Linked DNA regions of Homo sapiens: region 1 is linked to region 2. The links are contacts of gene promoters, found by promoter capture Hi-C in blood cells and fetal thymus (Javierre and others, 2016). All regions are on one chromosome and are shown on one strand. The core of a region is centred on a gene start or on the middle of the fragment in contact, and the rest is flanking DNA. Distances in the headings are between cores, read along the strand shown. Region 1 has its middle 72 kb from the start of LINC01492. Region 2 holds the start of OR13D1 (olfactory receptor family 13 subfamily D member 1).

What was found. The method cuts DNA at HindIII sites, captures the fragments that hold promoters and counts their contacts. A CHiCAGO score of 5 or more calls a contact.
Region 1: a fragment that was not itself captured here is called in contact with the fragment with the promoter of OR13D1 in region 2 in 2 of 17 cell types (M1 macrophages and erythroblasts); the score reaches 5.4 in M1 macrophages.

Annotation. Positions count from the first base shown.
Region 1 is chr9:103,393,396-103,400,893 of GRCh38, reverse strand. No RefSeq gene overlaps it. Among named protein-coding and RNA genes, the nearest start is that of LINC01492, 72 kb to the right of the region's middle. The HindIII fragment of the contact is 1,015 bases long and covers 3,019-4,033 here.
Region 2 is chr9:104,691,501-104,698,329 of GRCh38, reverse strand. OR13D1 (olfactory receptor family 13 subfamily D member 1) reads right to left here and starts at 3,812. Exons shown (of 1, transcript NM_001004484.2): 1 at 2,868-3,812. The coding sequence starts at 3,812. The coding sequence ends at 2,868. The region is part of intron 1 of LOC107987105 (a long non-coding RNA gene); the gene reads left to right. The HindIII fragment of the contact is 5,977 bases long and covers 1-4,291 here.

The DNA.
Region 1 (7,498 bases), core at 2,277-4,776, 1.3 Mb after region 2:
TTTTCAAAAAATAATTTTACTAGATTATTTGATTTTTTTCATAGCCTTCTTCTTCATCCTTTACAGAGCAGCAGCATTAATTTGTGATATAGTTTTCAAGTCCAGATTTTACACCTAAAATATCTTATTTTACTGCAGACTTCTTTTATAGCCATAATGTTCTTTTTATGGTTTTCTGACTGAATTCAGTGTCAGAAAAACATGTATGAATTTGTACAACTAATAGTTCACTGTATCCATGTAATCCCTAACATTTCCAAAGCATTTCCACATAAGATATGTTTCAGAAAATTATGTGAAGCTTATTTCTCTTAGAAGAATAACTGGCTAAGGAATTTATTCTAAAATATAAAATTAAAAATATATAAAGCACTTAATCACTAATGTATTTTCTCTAGTTAATCCCAAACCCTGAAATCAGTTAAGATGAGTAAGTCAAGATGTTAGCCAAAATTTAACAAAACACATTTTTTTCTAACATCTGGAGTTCATTTTGAATATTTGGACAACAATTTCATTGAATTAACACCTGTTGATTATTATCATCATATTGATGTGCTTCAGAGAAAATGAACTAGAAGAAGAAAGGGATGAGAGACATGATGTTAACTGAAGCTGAATTCACTATGAGGATTTAGACTTACTGGCAGGTCTTGCTGCCTGTGTGAAAAGTCTTTAAATGCCTATTTGCAGGAGCTAGTGAAAACTAAGAAAAATAAGTTATATTAACATAAAAAGGTGACAAATACTTTTAATGAACAAATAAAAAGTATTCAGTTATGAGAGAAGGCTTGATGTAATATTTCTACAACAGCACTACGTACTGTGTAATGAAAGAGGTACTTGAGAATGTATTTAAGACTCAACAAAGTAACTCTTTCTATTAAAGGTTGCTGAATATAATGTTCTCCTGCATTATAGTATCTTAGAGAGAACATTGATGGCAGAGAGAATGCTGATCTTAGCAAAGAGAACAGAGTTGGAAGGTAAAGGGTGAAAATGTCATTATTGAAATAAAGGAGGCAATATTGAACAATGCACAATGAAAGAAAATAAGTACTCATTATCAATTGATAATCAAATTGTGGAATTAACTTCAAATTTTATTCAGTATTATAAAAATATATTTCTATTTATATTATTAAAATATAATATCGAATATTGTAATATTGAATTATTTAATAATTTAATATTGGAAAATATTTTAAATCACTTACAGATTAAATATTTTTCAGGTTTATTCTGTTGCCTACATACAGGCTTTTATTTAGAAATAGGTAAGACCGGGATGTGAGTTCAAGATGGCTGGTGAGAGGCAGTTAGAATGCACCTCTTCCGTGGGGAGGAAACAAAACATGACAATCTTCACACTTTGAACAGATCTTTTGAAAGAGAGCACTAAAATTCAAAAGAGAGGTGATGGAAGAAATTGTGGTTAAGAGGGAAGAAGTAGGGCTGCCTGCTCAGCATTGCCAGATACTAGGACTGGGCCCAAGACCCAGATCCAGACCCGAGAAAGGAGTCAGTGAAGGAACCCCAGGGTATCATATTCCTACTGTGGACCTCTGAGATTCTAGCTATGAAGGTTTCTGACACCTGAAGATCTTTGGATTGGTAGATGGAGATACCTGGTAACCATGAAAAGTCGCTGCTTGAACGCATGTGGAGCCTCAAAGCCTTCCATGAGTTGAGCATTGCAGCAAAGCATGACTGTGGGTGCCTACGTCACATGGCTCTGTATCCTAAGCTTCTGCAGCTGCTGCTGTCTGCTGGGCCAGGGAATGAGCAGGGCCTGGTCACTTTTACGGGCCCCAAAGACAGACTCCATCTGAATCATGGGCCCCGTGCCTGCCAGTCTCTCCCAAAACTGCCTGCTAGGCCATTCCCACAGAGGATGGGCCCACAACCTAGCCGCCATTGCCCCACCCCAGTTGAGTTGTTGGCAGCCTTGGAGCAGTTTGTCCCTCCATATCCAGGCTGGTGCTTGAGCTCCTGGCAAATCCTCTGGCCTGGTCCCAGTTCCCTAAGACTTGAACACACCATCCAGGAAAATGGAGATGAGATTTGTGATCTAATCTCAAGTGGGGAAGGAGCCCCCACTGTCAAAACACAAAGAAGAGTGTGGCACCAGATTGTGGAGTGGCCTAGGACCTGGGCATCCCTCCCTTTACAAGACTGGAATGGGAAAGGTGTGGCCTGGTAACTGTGGTTTCTGCCCCACAGAGTCTAGAACCCTAGAAATCCCGGAATAGCTTTGTGATTTGAACGCAGACAGCTTTAGACTAGCCTAACCATTCTGTCCTGCTGCTGGCTGCCAGACACTGAAGACCTTCCAGGTTAGGGCTGTGGGAGCCGGGCAGTTTCCATTGCCACTTGCTGGGCTGAAAACCCTGTCTGGTTTTCTTCTGAGAGGGCTCTGTGGTATGAAAGAAGCACTTCTGCCCCTCTTGAAGAGTTGCTCCAAAGGCCTGAGAGCTGTCCCTGGACTCCAGCCAAAACCAGCGCTTAAGCCCATCTTGGAGAGCCTGGTTATGGACTTGTACCATCCAACCCTGCCTCATATTGTCCTCTCTAGTTCCCTTTGTGTCAGAACCCCGGATGGGGACCCCTGAAAACCCCATGGCCTCACACATCACCTGGGACACACTAGTGCTTCCTCTGATCAACAAAGGTCAAATAAAAATTCCACTACTACCACTGAAACTGCCTCTTGCCTGAAAGCACTATCTACTGACCAGGAGGTCAACCTGCACAACTCATCACAATTTCTGCTGACACTACTGTTCAGCGTTTGGTTGGAATTTACCTGCAAGTGCCACCTACTGTCCCCTAGGGTGAACTGCACGTTCCACTATAATTTCTGCTGACAGAAGTACACAGCACTGTGGAATGACATAATTCTCCTGTGACCTCCACCTCCCTACCTCTGCAGGAGGCAGGGAGCCTGATGACACACATAGTAAAACACTACTACAACATAGAAACAACTAGCATTTGAGAAAACTGTTACACTAAGCTTATCTATACCCAGGAACTCATACAGAGCCTTGGCCCCCTAAAGCAGAAAAAAGCAAAGACAAAGGACCCTATCCAAAATACAAGGCAGACATGCCGCCAAGGGGAAATAAAGCCCATCCAAATGAAAGTAAGTTCAAAACTAATAATTATAGCTTCTCCAGATGAGAAGTAACTAGTGTAAGAACTCCAGCACCATGAAGAAACTAAGGTGTGACACTTCCAAAGGACCATACAAGTTCTCAAACAATGGAGCTTAGCCAAAATGAAAATTATGAAATGACAGATAAGGAATTCAAAATATGGATTAGAAATAAGTTCAATGAGATGAAAGAGAACATTTAAAAACAACAAAAAGAAATAGAAAAAAATTCAGGAGATGAAGGACAAGATAGATATATTAGGAAAAAAAGAATTTCTGAAAATGAAAAATTAACTGAAGAAATGTCAAAATGCATTTCAATCCTTTAGCAAGACTAGATCAAGAAGAAGAAAAAATTTCAGAGCTCAAATACAAGTCTTTTGAAATAACGCAGCCAAAAATAAAAAAATAATTGAAAAAAATTAAGAAAGCCTTGGAGAGATATGGGATTAAGGGATTACGTAAAGGGTCAAAATCTATGACTTATAGGCATTCCTGAGGGAGAAGAAGTAAAAGTAAGAAGTTTGGGAAACATATTTGAGGGAATACTTAATTACAAGTTTTCTGATCTTGCTGTAGATATAGACATCCAGACACGAGATATTCAGAGAACACCTGAAAGACACTATACAAGAGGAAAATGACCAAAGCATATAATTATCCGACTATCCAAGGTCAAAGTGAAAGGTGAAAGAAAAAGTCTTAAAAGCAGCTACACAGAAGCATTGAATCACATATAAAGGAAATACCATCAGATTAGCAGTGGACTTCTCGGTAGAAACCTTATAAGCCAGAAGAGATTGGGGCTCTATTTTCTTTAGACTGCTTAAAGAAAAACATGCCAGCCAAGAACTTTACATCCTGCCAAACTAAGCTTCATAAATGAAGGAGAAATGAGGTCTATGTCAAACAAGCAAATGCCAAGGGAATTCATCACCACTAGACAAGTCCTACAAGAAACGCTCAAAGAGTTTTAAACATGGTAATGAAAGGACAGTACTTTCCATTGTAAAAGTATACATAACTACAATGCTCAAAACCCTAAAAAGCAGTTATATAATTGAGACTACAAAGCATCTAACTTAAAACACTATGAATGGGGAAAAAACCTCACACATCAATGTTAACTTTGAACATACATGGCCTGAATGCTCCACTTAAAAGATATAGACTAGCAAATTGGATTTTAAAAGAATCCAACCATCTGCTGTCTACAAAAGACCCACTTAAGAGGTAAAGACACTCACAGATTTAAAGCAAAGGAGTGAAAAAAAGATATATCATACAAATGAAAAACAATAATAAGCATTCATAGCTATGCTTATATGGAACAGAATTTAAATCAATAACAGTGAAAAAAGACAAAGAATGCCATTATATAATCCATAAAGGGCCAAATTCAACAAGATGATTTAACTGTTCTAGATATATATGTACCCAATACCAAAGCCCAAAGATTCATAAAATACAAACTACTAGTCCTAAGAAAAGAGGTAGACAACAACACAATAATAATGGGGGCTTCAAGACCCAACTCACAGCATTAGACAGATCATCGAGGCAGAAAAGCAATAAACTCTGGACTTAAACTGGACTCTGGAACAAATGGACCTAATAGATAGCTACAGAACATTCTACCAAACAACCACAGAATAGTCATTTTTCTAATTTGTGCATGGAACATTCTCCAAAATAGACCATATTCTTGGACATAAAGCAAGTCTCAATTTTTTTTTAAATTTGAAATAATATCAAGTATCTTCTTTGACCACAGTGGAATAAAATTAAAAGTCAAAACAGAGAGGAACTCTCAAAACTACACAAGTACGTGGAAACTCAAAAACTTGCTCTTGAATGACCTTTGGGTAAGCAGGCAAAATTAAGGCAGAAATAAAAATATTTTTGGAAACAAATGAAAATAGAGACACAATATACCAAAACCTCTGGAATACATCATAAGCAGTGTTAAATGGAAAGCTAATACTGCTAAATGTCTACCTCAAAAAGAAAAAGTTCTCAAATTAACAACCTAACTTTGCACCTCAAGGAACTAGAGAAACAAAAATGAACCAAACACAAAGCTAACAGAATAAAAAAACAACAAATATCAGTGCAAAACTAAATGAGATTGAGACCCCAAAAATAATGCAAAATAACAACTAAATGAAAAATTGTTTCCTTGAAATGATAAACAAAATTAATAGTCAGCTAGCTAGATTAACCAAGCAAAAAAGATAGAATATTCAAATAAGCACAATCAGTAATGATAAAGGTAACATTACAACTGATACCAAGAAAATACTAAAGATCATCAGAGACAACTATGAGCATTCTATGTGCACGAACTAGAAAGGCATGAGAAAATAGATAAATTTCTGGAAACATACAACTTCCCAAGATTGAAGCAGGTCCAAATAGAAACCCTGAGCAAACCAATAATGAATAATGAAAATGAATCAGTAATAAATAATCTCCTAATAAAAAAAGCTTAGGGCTGGGGGCATTTATAGCTAAATTTTACCCAACACACCAAGAAGAGCTGATACCAATTCTGCTGAAATTATTCAAAAAAATTGAGGAGGAGGGATGCCTCCCTAACTCATTCTATGAAACCAATAACACCCTGATACCAAAACCAGGCAAAGAGACAACAGAAAAAGAAAACTACAGCCCAATTTTGCTAGTAAACATAGATGTAAAAATTCACAACAAAATACTAGCAAACTGAATCCAACCATATGTCAGAAAGATAATCCATCACAATCAAGTGGGTTTTATTCCAGAGATACAAGGATGGCCCAGCATATGAGAAAATGTGAAATTTACTACATAAAGAGAATTAAGAGCATAAACCACATGATCATTTCAATAAATGCAGAAAAAGTATTCAATGAAACCCAACATTGCTTCATTGTAAAAACTCTCAACAAATGAGGCATCAAAGAAACATAACTCAAGATAACAAAAGCCTTATATGATAATCCACAGCCAACATCATACCAAATGGGGAAAAGTTGAAAGCACCTCACTCCCAAGAACTGGAACAAGATAAGGATATCTTATTCTCAACACTCCTATTCAACATCCTAGGACTGCCAAGTCCTAGCCAGAGCAATCAGGCAAGAAAAAATAATAATAATAAAAGGCATCCAAAATGGAAAAATGGAAGTCAAATGATCTGTTCTCTGATGACATGACCTTATATTTAGAAATCCCTAAAGAATGCTGCAAAAGACTAGACTCGATAAATGACTTCAGTAAAATTTCAGACTACAACATCAACATGCAAAAATCAGTAGTTTCCATATACACCAATAATATTCAAGCTGAGAACCAAATCAACAACTCAATTTTATTTATAATAGCCACAAGTTATAAAAATAGCTAGGAATACATTTAATCGAGGAGGTGAAAGATCTCTATAAGGAGAACTACAAATCACTGATGATAGAAAGATATAGATGACATGAACAAATGGAAAAACTTCCCCTCATGTATTGGAAAATCAAAATCATTAAAATGACCTCACTGCTTAAAGCAATCTACAGATTCAACACAAATCTGATTAAATTACCACGTCATTCTTCACAGAATTAGAAAAAATACTATCCTAAAAGTCATGTGGAAACAAAAAGGAACCCAAAGAGCCAAAGCAATTGTAAGCAAAAAGAACAAAGCTGAACATATCACATTTTATGACTGCAAATTGTACTACAATGCTGTATATGATGGTTAGTATTTAGTGTCAAGTTGATTGGATTGAAGAATGCAAAGTATTATTCCTGGGTGTGTCTGTGAGGGTGTTGCCAAAAGAGGTTAACATTTGAGTCAGTGGACTAGGAGAGGCAGACCCACCCTCAATCTGGGTGGGTACCATCTAATCAGCTACCAGTATGGCTAGGATAAAAGCAGGCAGAGGAACATGGAAGGACTAGACTGGCTAAGTTTTCTGGCCTCCATCTTTCTCCCATGCTGAATGCTTCCTGCTCTCAAACATCAGACTCCAAGTTCTTCAGCTTTTGGACTCTGGACATACACCAGTGGTTTGCCAGTGGCTCTGGTGCCTTCAGCCACAGACTGAAGGCTGCACTGTCAGCGTCCCTAGTTTTGAGGTTTTGGAACTCGGACTGGCTTCCTTGCTACTCGGCTTGCAGACAGCCTATTTTGTGACTTCACCTTGTGATGACATGAGTCAATACTCCTTAATATACTCCCTTTCATATATACATCTATCCCATTAGTCCTGTTCCTCTAGAGAACCCTGACTAATACACTGTCATAACCAAAACAGCATGTTACTAGTACAAAAATAGACTCATAAATAATGGAACATATTAGAGT
Region 2 (6,829 bases), core at 2,563-5,062:
TGTACAGCAGTAGAATTATATTACTATCCTCTCTTCAACCAACAGCACAATAGAAAACATTGACTATGATAGAGTCTGCAAAAAAGATAACAAGCACTTAGATAAATTTTGAGACAGAAATTTATTCTGACGTTTTAAAAAGAGAAGGGAAAAATGAAACAAAAGTACTTCCATAGCAATGGACAACATGTATGCAGTAATTTGCAGTACACTCTGAAACAAACCTTCACAAAAATCAATTAATAAAGCATATATTAAAATTGTCTTTGTATTTTCAAATGCAATGACAAATGACTTTCTCCAGACAAATCAAATTCCTGCAAGATGTAGTGACTGATTTCAGCACAGACATTATGGAATGAGAAGCTCATGTCAACATATAAGAGAATCAACAGAACCTGGATTGAAAAGTGTGTGGAAAGAAGATAGTACTGGGAATGTATAGAATATAGTCCTTTAACTACTGGTCTTAGGGTTCCTGCTAGTTATTTAGTCAGAAGGAAGCATACATTTATGTATGAATATACTCCAAAGTAAGTTCATAATATTGCTTTACAGAATGCTTTTTCACATCCAATGCCTATGTATTAGCTATTATTTGCCTCTCATTGATCTACACACTGGGAAAAGATAGCAATAGATAAGGAGAAGTACCTGCTTACAAGGAACTTTTCCTGTAGAAAATAGACAATAAATCCATAGAAAAGATAAATACATACAGCATTTTAAAGGAGTGAAATGCTGTGGAAAAAAAAACATGTTACAACTTTTATAAGACGAATATATTAGACATTTATGCAAAAACTTATTTGAAATGACAGAGGGAACCCTTGGAAGATCGAGGGGAGGAGTGTCCCAGATAGAAGGAATAATAAAGGCAAAGGCTTTGGCATATTTGAGAAACAAGAAGGTAGTGAAATGAGAGTGTAATGAGAGTCTAATGAATATCGTTAGGTGGTAGGAAATGAAGTGGTAAAACTAGGTGGGGTTAAGATTATATGGGTCTGGTATACCATGGTAAGGAATTTAAAACATTTTAAAATCTCTCTCTCACTTTTTTGAGATGGGATCTCATTATGTTGCCCAGGCTGGTTTCGAACTCCTGGGCTCAAGCAGTCTTCCCACTTCAGCCTCCAAAGCAGCTTGGATTACAGGCATGCACCACCATACCAGGCTTTAAAAATTTTTATCCTGTAGATTAATAGATTAGTTATTTTTGTTTTTGTCAAATTCTGAGTTCCATATAATCTAGGAATTATATCTCTGTATAACTGAATTAAGTGAGCCCTGTCTAATCTATTACAGTTATGATTCTGGTCCCCAGAGTGGACAAAATCAGATATGCAACACCCTTAAGGGAATTCTGCCTTAATTTGGCTTATTACTACTTATATGTATTTATATATAACACAGTAATCTACCATAATCCACCAAATGACAATGTTTATTAAACTAAAAAACATTATGTAGAAAAGCAAAATGCAGTTATTTCAAGTACCAATATATTGATTGAAGCACAGAGAAAAATGGTAAGAAGTCCATAAATCAATTTGATGAAAAATATGAGAACAAAAAATTAGAAACGTAAATGCTCCATAGAAATAATTGGGGAGATGACTGAAATGCCTGAAGTAATGCAGAATAGAGGTTAGATTATTGTAATTTAGTTATTAATGAGAAAGGGAACTCCTACAGGCTGGAGAACTTGGAACCTCTCAGATTACATACCTTGTTATTATTATTATTGCCTTAAAATGTAAGAGGATGGAGAGGAAGATAGGACAAAGGAATATATTAGGATTTATTTTGTCGTATGTGGTAAAATCCAGGTCAAATTAGTTTTTCATAAAATGCTAATTTGACTCATAAATAAAATCTGCAACGGTGAATCTGGCTTTAGCTACAGCTGCGTTCAAGAGTTAAAGTGACACCATCAAGCACACTCTGTATCTCAGCTCTGCTTTCATTCTCATGCTGTCCTCACATATTGGCAATGGTTGCCAGTAGGAATTCTGAGTTAACATTCTACCAGTTTAGACACCATTTCAAAAAACAGTGTGTCTTTCTGACAAAGGCAGCATTCCTGGGATGGAGTCTAATTAGTATGGCTCGGGTCACATCCTGCACTATACCAATCACTATGACTAGAGGAATTAGACATCCTTTCTTTCTTTCTTTCTTTCTTTCTTTCTTTCTTTCTTTCTTTCTTTCTTTCTTTCTTTTTTTTTTTTTTTTTTGCCAAGACCTCTTCCATGCTTATCTTTATTTTCAGAGGTTTGGGTCAGCCCCACCATGTACAACATAGACTGAGAGTGGGGGACTTTGGTTCATTAAAAGAAAAATATACATCTTTCTATTAATATATATTATGCAGATCTGTCAATTGGGTGGCAATATTGTGCAGGGATGCTGCACAACAACTATATATCCACTTCAAAGTGACTGAGAAAGGAGACAACAGAAAAGAAAGGAAGAGAAAGAAAATATACGGAGGAGAGGAGAGAGAGTAGCAGAATAGAGAGAGAGGACAAAATCAGAGGAGTAGAGAGAGACACACACATGGCAGGAGAGAGAAGAAAGAGAGACAGACAGAGAGAGAGACTGAGTGAGAGAGAGAGATTCATTTTAATGGACAGCATCAATATTTTTATAGGGCCAGTTTGCAGAACTGCTTACAGCTACAAACCCAGCAGACAAGGCACTATTAAGAAGGTTACATGAGCATGAAAATTCTACGTTGAAAAGAATGGGAATCTAATAGTTGGTTTTGCAAACACACAAGCTCTCGTGACAGTAGGTTTTGCAGTATCTAAATACAAAAGACAAGCTCTCTTGCCCCATTGAGGATATCGCATGCCCAAGGTTTTTCACATTTTCAATAAATGCAGATGTCTGCTCAGGACTTTCTTTACAGCCTCTTTGACCTCTTTATTCCTGAGGCTATAGATGATGGGATTTAACATTGGGCTTACCACTCCATAAGACAGCCCAATAATCTCATCAGATGTATTAGTGTTCTTTGACTTGGGTTTCATGTACATAAAAAGGGCTGAACCGTAGAATAAGATGACCACAATCGAGTGCGCTGAACAGGTAGAGAAGGCTTTCTTTCTTCCCTCAGCACAATTAATTCTCAGGATGGAAGAGAGAATAAACACATAGGAGATGAAAATTAACAGTAGAAGAATCACCAGTGAAACAATATTTGTCACTGTCATGATAAGCACATTGATGGTGATATCTGAACAAACAAGTTTTAGAAGGGCCAAAATTTCACAGGTAATATGATCAATGACATTATTCCCACAGAAAGGCAACATCATTGTCAGAACTGTTTGCAATAGGGAGGTCAGACAGCCTATGATCCAGGACCATGCAGCCATTTGCACATACAGCACTCCGTTCATGATGATGGAGTACCTCAGTGGGTTGCAGATGGCCACATAGTGGTCATAGGCCATCACAGCCAGGAGGACACACTCAGTGGAGCCCAAGCCAAGGGACACAACCATCTGCAGAGCACAGCCAATGAAGGAGATGGATTTTCTCTCAGACATAAATATAATAAGCATTGGAGGAATGGATGAGGATGTGTAACAGATGTCCAAGAATGAGAGGTTTCCAAGAAAGAAATACATGGGAGTATGGAGGCGAGAATCCAAGATGGTGATGATAATGAGGAGGCTATTTCCCAGGAGGATTATCATGTACATGATGAGGCAGAGCAGGAACAGAAAAAGCTGGAGCTCTGGATATTGGGAAAGCCCCACCAGAAAGAATTCAGTCATGGCAGAGTAATTTCTTGTCTCCATGTGTTCTAGGTCACCTGCCTGCTGGGTAGTATAGAAAAGGACATGATTCAGGTAAATTGAAATGTTTGATACATCAAAATCTGTAAATCTGTACATCTACAAATTTTCAATACAAATTTGCTTCCGATATTGTGTTTGATTCTTAGAATACTCTCAGTAAGCAAAACAGTATGGATATTGTACTAGTTTTATTGATTATGAAAATTGAGACATTGAGAAACCCAATATATCTTAGGACTACACAGCAGCACATTCAAAGCTACCAATACTGCCAGAATTATTCTGGGAAGTGTCAAATAAAGTTTAGGAACATGCTGCTTTCAAATGTAGAAAGAGATTTTGAACTTAAAGCTGTTTTTTTGATGAAGCTGGCCTCTATTTAAAAGATTTTATAGACTGCCAGTGACATATCATTTAACCTGGATGTAGCTTTGGTAAGTTGTTTATTTTTCTGAGTTGCAGATAGTTCATAGTAAGCTTGGAAAAAGCAATAATTATTTCTTAGAGTATAGTTAGAATTAGATAAAATATTAGGTGCCTAGAACCTAATGGTTCCAACATGGCATATGTGTGTGTGTGTGTGTGTATGCATATATGTAATATAATTATATTTACCTTATACAAGATATAATATTAAATGTATTTTTATACACATGCATTTTATGAATTATAGTATAATATTTAGATCTACCAATCTTAAAAGGGAAAAGTAGATTTAGCTTTTTAAAGGTAAAAGGTTTAAAGTTTGAAACCACACTTGACAGACTGTGAACATTTTTGTTCTCAGTGGGATATTTCATTGCACTTCTTTCAAAAACCTGTTAGGAGTCTGAGAATCATTGGAGGACTGTTCTAGAAGCTTCCAGAGATTAAGGAGTCTAGGTCCCAGCATGTACAGCTTTTTTTCCAGGCCCTGGGATTCTCTCTTCTTAAGTGTAGTATTACTGCCATTTTACAAAGTAGGAAACAGAGACAAAGAAAAGTTTAAGTAACTTTCTCAAGGTCATACAGATAGTAAATACTAAAGCCAGAATTCAATATCTAGCCATCTGGCTATAGAATCAGCCCTTTTACCCACCATACACTACTCTCTCTCAGTGGTTACTACACAGATTCCACGCAAGAGAAGACTATTACAAAAATGTATCTTCTGTTGGGGTACAGTGAGACAGCAAACATCATTTACTTGTGATTCTGATCATATGTGATGTGATGGAGAACTCTGAAGGCTGGACCACTTACTTTTTCCTGTAGCTTTTGATTGTGGTCTGCTCAGTTTTCTTTTCTTTTCTCTCGCTGTTTTTTTTTTTTTTTTTTTTTTTTAAGACGGAATCTTGCTCTGTTGCTTGGGCTGGAGTGCAATGGCGCGATCTCAGCTCACTGCAACCTCCACCTCCCACATTCAAGCGATTCTCCTGCCTCAGCCTCCCGAGTAGCTGAGATTACTGGCATGCTCCACTACACCTGGCTAATTTTTGTATTTTTAGTAGAGACGGGGTTCATATCATATTGGCCAGGCTGGTGTCGAACTCCTGGCCTCAAGTGATCCTCCCACCTTGGCCTCCCAAACTGCTAGGATTACAGGCATGAGCCACCCTGCCTGGTCTGCTCAGTTTTCTATGTGTAGAAGGCGATTTCACAGCTATGAAAAAAAGCATGATCAAGAATAATGATACAAAAGTCCTTTTCATCACCTTTGCCTTTTTCTTTTCTTTCTTTGTTTTTCTTTTGAGACAGAGTCTCACTCTGTTGCCCAGGTTGGAGTGCAGTGGTGTAATCTCAGCTCACTGCAACCTCCGCCTCCCAGGTGCAAGTGGTTCTCCTGCTTCAGCCTCCCAAGTAGTTGGGATTACAGGCGCATACCACCACACCCAGCTAATTTTTGTATTTTTAGTAGAGATGGGATTTCACCATGTTGGCCAGGCTGGTCTTGAATCCCTGACCTCAGGTGATCCACCCTCCTCAGCCTCCCAAAGTGCTGGGATTACAGGTGTGAGCCACCATGCCCAGCCCACCTTTGCCTTTATCAGTAACATATCAAAAATACCACAGCCCCTGCCCTCACTCTGCAAATCTAAATGCAGCATAGAGTCTTTTGAGAAACTACTCCCATTTATAACATTAGTGCCACATCTTTGAAAACTCAATGTGCTCCATTCGTTTCATATTCATTACATTGATATGTCCAAGTATTGTGTTAAGATGTCTTATATAAAGGGCTGTTTCTCATACATTGTTACACTATTACCACAAGAACTATATCTATGCTGGGCTCTCCTTGTGGAATGAGAATATTTCTTACTGATCTTATTCTGACCCTACAACCACACTTTTGCTTTGGCCTTTTCATATCCAGAGACTTTGAAGACAGGATGAATGCTTACTCTCTGGGTAGTCATAGATGGCAAGCCCTCCTAGCTCCCTGTTGCATAATGATGAAAAATGTAGTATTATGGGGAGACTAGAAGAAACTCAGCATGGTCTTTGCAGACCATTTGGGGCATCAGTAGTGGCTCCAGGGAGTAGTGGAGTACTGGCTCCAGGGAGATGAAGGGAAAAAGTTTCTCCATTCCCTTTCCATATCCTTTGTCTTCCTCTTAGAGAGTACTACCTACACCATGATTTGGGAGGAGATTAAAAAAAATTAGATGATACCAATGTGTTGGTATGTTGGAAAATATTCCCTTTGTCTTGCACTTCTTTTTCCTGTCTCTATCTACATTGGCATATGGATTTGTTCCCACAAAGTGGGCAGTTACGGTAGCCGTTTTAATTAGATAGAGCATAGCTGTTTTGAAGTAGAGGAAAGTGGAAGGAAAGAAGAGGTGGAGAAGAAACAAATTTGTGCTAGCATAGAAAGAACACTAAACTTACCACTTGTATCTTGGGCGATGGTGTTGTGCTAAACCCCTATTAATCTCAATAGGGGCGGCACCAGGTGCAAAAGGCCAAGAGACCCAGAGTCAGCAAATGAGACATGGGGTTTATTAGGGAATTACATACAGGGAGAGAGTCCA